Regions from separate parts of the Homo sapiens genome. Here all the other regions are linked to region 1. The links are contacts of gene promoters, found by promoter capture Hi-C in human tissues and cell types (Jung and others, 2019). All regions are on one chromosome and are shown on one strand. Each heading gives the region's core, a stretch centred on a gene start or on the middle of the fragment in contact. The rest is flanking DNA. Distances are from core to core; before and after follow the strand shown.

Region 1 (2,825 bases), core at 187-2,686:
CTTTTTTATATCCTCCTCTATCGCCCCACTGTTATTGACATAAATGCAACAGGATTTACTGATCACTGCACAGACTCCACCCTGCTCTGCTAAGAGGTAATCTAAGGCCAATCTGTTGTTCATGACTACATTTGCTAGAGAATCTATGGAGGCCTTGAGTTTAGAGATGCTATCTCTGGTACTCTTAGCTATGTTGTCTATTTGTCTGGAGAGATTTCTGAGGGTGACATCATGATAAGTGAACCCTCCCCATGGGGCGATCATTCCTATGGCCGCACCCATCCCTGCCAGTATTAGACCCAGAGCTCTTTTCTGTCTGGGTTGGGTGGTGTTATAAATGGTCACACCTATCCCCCGTGGTCCCAAAAGTCCCACAGCACATTCTCCCGTATGTTGGATGTTATTAATGCAAGTGTAGAGGTTTGCCACAGGGGGGGTTGAATAAGTTATCTTAGGACTTCCATCAAAGGGCAGTTTATTTTTTTGTGGCCCACATAAAAATACATAGCCAGGAGGGGTACAGGCCCACCGGGGGATGTGGCTGTCGAACCACTTGTGTAACTGCGATTTCCACCCTGCTGGAATAGTTTGATTGCATGCAGGGGATAGAGGCCCTCCCAGGGGAACAGTAGATTTTGGCCATGTGGGGACAGTGTGTGCCTTGGGAAGCAAATATAGAACCCTCCATGTGATTAGCTCTTTTCCTTCCCAAGCTGCACAGCGGTTTTGGGGTGACTTGTCTCGATAATCGTTCATTTGTTTAGCTGGACACCAGTGAGTCAAGTTAGGGTGGCAGCCTGCTGGGGAGAAGCTCATGGGATGGATGGTGGGACTGGGGAATCCCTCCTCAGAGGTGTTCTTCCTGTCACAGTGTCCTTCAGGGCATGGACAACAGGTTTGGTTTAGAGAAGAGCAGTTGTAGAAATAGAAAGAAGTTTTAGAGCTTTGATTGAAAGGTGGAGTGAGATCCAGGCAGGGGACTTGGTGCGCTGAGTTAGCAAGCGAAACCTGGAGCGGAACAGATTTATGTTGGCCTTCAGGGATTCCTGAACCAAATGTTAGGTTTAAAGAAAAATTTCTTACCAAAATATATTGGTAAGATGAGGACCTGGTGATGAAGTTGTGGCAGATCCAACAGTTGCTTAGATGGTTTCCCGAAGCAATTATTTTGGAAAAACTGACAAGGGAATTTTCATTCCACTGTGCCTGTGAGAGTAGGGGCATGGGAAGGAGGGAAAGATAAAGGAAAAGGAATTTCTCTGTCATAGCTGATTCTCCCTTAAGCTTTGTGAAAGCAAAAGGAAAGTGCTGAAAATAGGAGAGACAAATAATGAAATGGTTCGATGGAGTGTTTAGTGAGAAATCAGGCTGTTATCGGGACTTCAGGTGGCATGCCAGTGTGGGTCAAAATAAGGAGAAGAACCGATGCCACCGCAACCAAGATTCCCCGTACTGAGAGACCTTTTTTTGAGGTGAAAGGAGAGAAGGCTTTACTTATCTTTTCACTTGAAGAGGAATTGGAAGCTCTCCAGTGGCTGGCTCATGAGACTACTCAGATGCTGATTCTGTTGTTGGTTCTTCGGGACCTTCTCACAGTTTTACTCAGGAGTGATGTATCCAACTAGAGATTCCAGAAACTTTGATAGCTGTCGGGGTAGAAAGTAATAAAGGGGCCTTTCCATAAAGGAGAGACCCAGGCTAGTTGAGACCTGGGTGACCCATCTCTCCAGGTTTTGATGAGGACTTGTGACCCTGGCTAGTATAAGGGTTGATTACTGGAGGGGTCAGTGGCAGGCAGTACCTTTTGCTCAAACTCCTGGATGGCTTGTTGAAATTGGGCCAGTGATGTTATGTATTTGATTAATTGGGTAACTTCTGGATCTAACATTAGGTCTGCATGTAGGAAGGCATAAGTAATATTAGGGGTCATGCTCAGAACAGTGCTACGGACAGGAGTTCTAACCATGGTGAGGAGGTTTCCTGGCACACTTTGTTCAGGGTCCTTTTAATAGTTTGATTAGTGCTTTCTACCTTGCCAGAGGAATGTGTTCTCCAGGAGTGCTAGGAGTACTTTATTTCTAGGGCTTTTGTCACTAATTAAAGGGTGCGTGAAATAAAAACTGGGCCGTTGTCACTTTGTAAACACAAACTAAACCCACACTGAGGGGTGATTTTTTTTTTCTTTTTGTTTTTGAGACGGAGTCTCGCTCTGTTGTCCAGGCTGGAGTGCAGTGGCACAATCTCAGCTCACCACAAGCTCCACCTCCCGGGTTCACACCATTCTTCTGCCTCAGCCTCCTGAGTAGCTGGGACTATAGGCGCCCGCTACCACACCCACCTAATTTTTTCTCTTTTTTAGTAGAGACAGGATTTCACTGTGTTAGCCAGGATGGTCTCAATTCTCTGACCTCGTGATCCGCCTGCCTCGGCCTCCCAAAGTGCTGAGATTACAGAAGTGAGCCACCACGCCCGGCCGGGATGATTTTTTTTTTTTTTTTAAGAAGTACCTTGGCTACTTCCTGGGCCTTTTCTGTTCTTGTAGGAAAGGCTTTAACCCACCCAATAAAGGTGTCCACAAACACCAGAAGGCATTTATAGCCTCTACAGGCTGGCAATTGAGTGAAATACATCCATCAGTCTTTCCCTGGGTAAGCTTCCCAATGCTGAACTGGCTCAACTAAGCAGGACAGGGAGCTGCATTGGCTCTGGCCGGTTGTCCTGGGTCACAAGGAGGCAAGGCTACGCGTTTGAGGCCAACCTGGGCAACATTGAACAAAAAAAAAAATTTGGCTGGGCACGGTGGCTCATGCCTGTAATCCCAGCAC
Region 2 (2,702 bases), core at 48-2,547, 42 kb before region 1:
AAATCGCTTGATCCCGAGAGAGGGAGGTTGCAGTCATCGGAGATCGCGCCACTGCACTCCAGCCTGGGCGAGAGAGCAAGACTCCACGTCAAAAATGTTTTTAATTAAAAAAAATAAAAATGTATTTCTCTTAATTTTCTTCTTGCCTCCCTGATCACTTTACACTTTTCTCTTCTAGTATGTCTTGAGCTCTGTTTTCTGAATGTGGAGTGACCCTCAGCTTACCCCTCGGACTTCTGATCTCTGCCCACACCCACTGCCCTTATCATCTCATCTCATGGCTTTAAACCCACCTACACGGCTCCATGTTCCCTGCAGACCTCTCCCCTGAACACTGGAATCCTGTGTCCAATTGTCTCTTCAACTCTCCTCTGGGAGTCCAGCAGGCATCTGGGGCATTTTGCAGGCACACCTCTGGTGCCCCCTTACCTGAAGTTTTCATTCAAATACATTGGGACGTGTCCTTAATAATATTTAAAGGTGATTCCATGGGTGTCCAGCATTGAGCACCCAGGCTCCGCCCTTTGTTTCTAAGGGCTGAAATCAGCCTGTGATCCACAGATGGGTGAGGGGGGCTGTGCTCTGCATGGGGTTTGGTCAGGGCTGGGTCTGTGTCCTGAAGAGAAGCTCAGTCCAGCCCAGCTTCCCACGGCTGCAGTGTGTGTGTGGGCTTCTCTGGGAGGGGAGCGGGTTCTGAAGAAATGGGCCCAAAACTCACCTGTTGGTCTTCCTGTAGGAGCCTGTCGTCCCTGTGTTCCATCTGGTGCAATGACTCCCAGAGAACTGGCTTTCCACAGTGAGGGCTTCCCTGAATGGGTGTTTGAGGCACAAAAATGAGGGTGTTGATTCCAGTCATTAAATGGCATATTTTAGACATTCAGGATCGACTTGTAAAGGCTTTTTCATGTTACCCAAGGAAGATGCCTAGAAGAGGAAGAAAAGGAAACAGGGATGGCTCTTACTCAGGTAAAGTAATAGTATCGGTTGATTTTTATTTCTCTTATTTCTGAAATTGTTACAGGTGGTGAATCCCTATCCGTACAGGTCTGCACCAACCTCAATTCTTGCCTCCTCAGAAGAAAAAATTCAACTGAGGGGCATAGGGCAGAAGGAGAGACTGAGGCAAGTTTTAGAGCAGGAATGAAAGCAAAAGTTTATTAAAAAGTTTTAGAGCAGGGCCGGGCGCGGTGTCTCATGCCTATAATCCTAGCACTTTGGGAGGCCAAGGCGGCAGATCATGTGAGGTCGAGAGTCCGAGACCAGCCTGACCTGAGGCGGCAGATCACTTGAGGTCTCGAGTTCGAGATCAGCCTGACCTGAGGCTGAGACAGAAGAATCGCTTGAACGTGGGAGGCGGAGGTTGTAGTGAGCCGAGATGGCGCCATTTCACTCCAGCCTAGGCAACAAGAGCAAAACTCCGTCTCAAAAATAAATGAATGAATGAATGAATGAATGAATGAATAAAAAGTTTTAGAGCAGAAATGGCCAGGCGCAGTGGCTCACACCTGTAATCTCAATGCTTTGGTAGGCTGAGATGGGCGTATCACTTGAGTCCAGCAGTTCAAAACCAGCCTGGGCAACATGGCAAAACCCCATCTCTACAAAAAAGATAAAAATTAGCCGGGTGTGGTGGTGCATGGCTGTAATCCCAGCTACTTGGGAGGCTGAGGCAGGAGAATCTTTTGAGCCCAGGATGTGGAGGTTGGCAGTGAGCCAAGATGATGTCATCGCACTCCAGCCTGAGTGACACAGCAAGGCCTTGTCTCAAAAAAAAAAAAAAAAAAAAAGAAAAGAAAAGAAAAGAAAAAAAGCTTTAGAGCAGAAATGAAAGGAAGGAAAGTACAGTTGGAAGACGGCCAAGTGCCAAGTGGGTGACTTGAAAGGCAAGTGTGCACTTCGACCTTTTGACTTGGGGTTTTATACATTGGTATACTTCCGGGGTCTTGCTTCCCTGATTCTTCCCTTGGGGTGGGCTGTCCGCATGTGCGTGCTTGAGTCCACTCGCCCAACTCCTGAGATCTCATGGGAAGCAGCAGATCACCAGTTTCAGGTGTTTTCTGTGTGTGAGGAGCCTGCCTTTCCCTGGTGCCAGCTGTGACTATTATTTTACATGTTTAACAACCACCTGACCATCATCTGATAGTTGCCTGACATTCCTGATGTGTGTGTATGGGGAGGGGGAGCCCTCTCCTGCCCTGCCCTGCTCTGCTCATACCAGAGGAGTTACCTACAATAACAAAATGTCATTCTTTGGAGTTGCAAGTCTTTGAGTCTGAAGCATCCTGCCTGACATATTTGCTCACTCACCCATGCGGTCCCTCAGTCCCTCTTATCTCACTTACATTCCATTGCCCGTGACCTAGTGACATGAACTTGGGAAGAAGCTCCACTGGGGCCTGGATTGGAGATGGGGTGTGGGCCCCCTAATATTATGTTGAGGACTTTTTCACCAATATTTTCAGGGATATTGGTCTAAGGTTTTGTTTTCTTGTCGTATATTTGTGTGGGTTGTATGCTGGGCAGCAGGGATTGTTTAGGGGCCACATCTGGATGCATGCCACCTCTTTGCAGAACAGGATTCAAGAAACTGCCCATGAAGTCAAATATTACTGTGCACAAGTTCCTGCTAAATGCTTTAAAATTAGAACACTAAGGGGAAAGCATTCCTGCCTCGTTTATGTTATGTTTGAAACTCTACAAGT
Region 3 (2,927 bases), core at 1-2,500, 61 kb before region 1:
ACCCCCTCCTTGAAATTGATTAGTTTGCTTGAGTGGCTCACATAACACAGGGAAACACTTATATTTACCCATTTATTATAGAAGATGCTACAAAGCACACAGATGAACATCTAGATGGAAGTGATCTATTAGTTGAGATATGGGAAAGGAGTGAGGAGCTGGGATGTATTCTCTCATGTATTCTGTCTTTTTTGAGTTTTCATGGAGGCCCCATTATGGAGGCCTTGCTTCCATTATTGGCATTGGTGATCAACTGAACTTTCATTCCCTCTGTCCTCCCGAGAGGACAGAGGCTTAGTCTAACCGAGCCTCAGCCTTTCCAGTGACCACCCACCGAGCCTTAGTTCCGGTGACCGCCCTCCATCCTGAAGCTACCTAGGTGCTCCAGACACCAATTATCCCATTAATGTACAAAAAGATACTTATCACTCCACTGATTTCAAGTGAGCTCTTATGTCAGGAGAGGGGGATGAAGACCAAATCTGTATGTCACATTGTCACAATCTGGATCTGTCAGCTCACCCACTTCAATTTAACCTATTCTCACATTTTTCTCCTCTTCTCCTTTTATGTGAAATTTTGAACTCTCCCCTTAGCCACTTGGTGAAATGTGTTTTTCATTTTAGGTACGGTTGACATTTAGGGATGTGGCCATAGAATTCTCTCAGGAGGAGTGGAAATGCCTGGACCCTGCTCAGAGGATCTTATACAGGGACGTGATGTTGGAGAACTACTGGAACCTTGTTTCTCTGGGTGAGGATGACTTTCTTCCAGAAGTCAAGATCTGTTCTTGTCTATTGTTGCATTTTCCCTTACGAGTCCCTGGAGAGCCCCTGCATTGCTTGACTGAGATTGAAGTCCTGTTGACTCTGAAATGGAAAGCTTAATCATGGGAAACCTGGACTTTAATCTTCCCCTTTCTCAGATGTTCTGCCTCCTTTGTACTTCATCATTTGAGGTTTCAGAGCTTTTGTATGCATAATACATTGTGTTAGACTTTTGAAATGTCAGATTTCCTGTTTTCTACCTCTCTGCTTTGGATTAAGTTGTTGGTGGAATAGAGCCTTCTATCAGCATGTACCATGTTTCCTGGGTATTCAGAAGGAGGCATTCAGTGGATGATTTTTTTTTTTTTTTTTTGAGGCGGAGTCTCGCTCTGTCGCCCGGGCTGGAGTGCAGTGGCGTGATCTAGGCTCCCTGCAAGCTCTGCCTCCCAGGTTCATGCCATTCTCCTGCCTTAGCCTCCCGAGTAGCTGGGACCACAGGCGCCCGCCACCACACCTGGATAATTTTTTTTTATGTTTTTAGTAGAGACAGGGTTTCACCATGTTAGCCATCATGATCTCCATCTCCTGACCTTGTGATCCACCCACCTCAGCTTCCCAAAATGCTGGGATTACAGGCATGAGCCACCGCGCCTGGCCCAGTGGATGAATTTTTGAAGTTTTCTTAGATCCACATATAATGTCCTCTCATGTAAACATAGGGCTGGGATTCTGGAAAAGCCCCGGCACATTGTGATCCTTTCTTTTTATAAACAGGACTGTGTCATTTTGATATGAATATTATCTCCATGTTGGAGGAAGGGAAAGAGCCCTGGACTGTGAAGAGCTGTGTGAAAATAGCAAGAAAACCAAGAACGCCGGAATGTGTCAAAGGCGTGGTCACAGGTAAGAGCTCAGATGGGCAGAGAGAAGGCCACTCATTAACTAGAGTGTGGGAGGGGGCACAGTAGCTCACGCCTGTAATCTCAACACTTAGGGAGGCCAAGGTGGGCAGATCACTTGAGGTCAGGAGTTCGAGACCAGCCTGACCAACATTGTGAAACCCTATCTCTACTAAAAATACAAAAAAAAATTAGCCGGGCATGGTGGCGTGTGCCTGTAGTCCCAGCTACTCAGGAGGCTGAGGCAAGAGAATTGCTTGAACCCGGGAGGTGGAGGTTGCAGTGAGCCAAGATCATGCCACTGCACTCCAGCCTGGGTGGACAGAACAAAACTCCGTCTCAAAATAAATAAATAAATAAAGTGGGAAACTCTCTGCAGATGAGAGAGTTCTTTGGGAAAATAAGTTGCCTTAGAGATAGAGGCAAAGTCTTTATCATGATGGACAACACCCTGTCATTTGAACTCTATGGTTCCTTCTGAAGAAACTGCTTTCTTTCTTGGTCTCTCCCTCTGTATTTAATTCCATATGGTGCTCAGTTCTTAGTCCATATGGGTCAGAGGGGAAGCCTCCATAGTCCTTAGTCCTGACGTCTAGACCTGTTTATGTTCCACCCCATTTCCTGTGCGTGGAAGACCTGCTCAGGAGATGGAAACATTGGCTGCTGCTCCTTGGCATCTGCTGCCCCAAACCTCATGGAAGAGTCTCCAGCCGTCTCCGCCTGTCGAGGTCCCTCGGCCATTTCTTCCATTCTGCTTTTGCCACTTTCATGGGGGTGTGTGATAAGCGAGTGGGTTCTATCTTCTAAGATTGTTCTCAGCATAACCGTAAAGACACCTAACAAAATCCTTCTGTCATTGATCCTCAGTCTTACATGGGGTGCGTATTCTGTTTTTCCAGGCTTCAGCACAGAAATACAAGTACTGCATGTTGTCACTTACATTTGGAATCTAAACCAATAAAACTAATAGCAGCAAAGAGTAGAATGTGGGTTACCACAGGTTGGGGACTGGAGGGAATAGGGAGATGTTGGTCACTGGGTGAAAACATTAGGAGTAAATGATAGGTTTTTGAGATGACTTATATGGTAATAGGCTTGTTTCCATCAGTCCATATTGTATACCTATAACAGAATATCAGTTTGTTTCCTGTAAATATATATAACTATAATTTGTCAATATAGAATTTTTTTAAAAATCATATTCCAGTTCTTATTGTGTTGGTTCTAAATAAAAATGCTTCTTTCTCTTAAGACAAAACTG

The links. The method cuts DNA at HindIII sites, captures the fragments that hold promoters and counts their contacts. A contact is called where the count stands out against the background at its distance.
Region 2: a fragment that was not itself captured here is called in contact with the fragment with the promoter of ERVV-1 in region 1 in 1 of the 25 tissues and cell types used here (psoas muscle).
Region 3: a fragment that was not itself captured here is called in contact with the fragment with the promoter of ERVV-1 in region 1 in 6 of the 25 tissues and cell types used here (H1 embryonic stem cells, mesenchymal stem cells, mesendoderm cells and 3 more).

What each region holds. Positions count from the first base shown.
Region 1 is chr19:53,012,532-53,015,356 of GRCh38, reverse strand. ERVV-1 (endogenous retrovirus group V member 1, envelope) reads right to left here and starts at 1,436. Exons shown (of 1, transcript NM_152473.3): 1 at 1-1,436. The coding sequence starts at 1,266. All of the region lies in intron 1 of LOC124904758 (a long non-coding RNA gene), which reads left to right. The HindIII fragment of the contact is 3,820 bases long and covers 428-2,825 here.
Region 2 is chr19:53,054,830-53,057,531 of GRCh38, reverse strand. LOC124904762 (a long non-coding RNA gene) reads left to right here. Exons shown (of 2, transcript XR_007067330.1): 2 at 1-134. Among named protein-coding and RNA genes, the nearest start is that of ERVV-2, 11 kb to the right of the region's middle. The HindIII fragment of the contact is 3,275 bases long and covers 1-2,702 here.
Region 3 is chr19:53,072,883-53,075,809 of GRCh38, reverse strand. ZNF160 (zinc finger protein 160) reads left to right here. Exons shown (of 6, transcript NM_001322131.2): 4 at 627-753; 5 at 1,542-1,670. Among named protein-coding and RNA genes, the nearest start is that of ZNF160, 29 kb to the left of the region's middle. The HindIII fragment of the contact is 9,128 bases long and covers 1-2,927 here.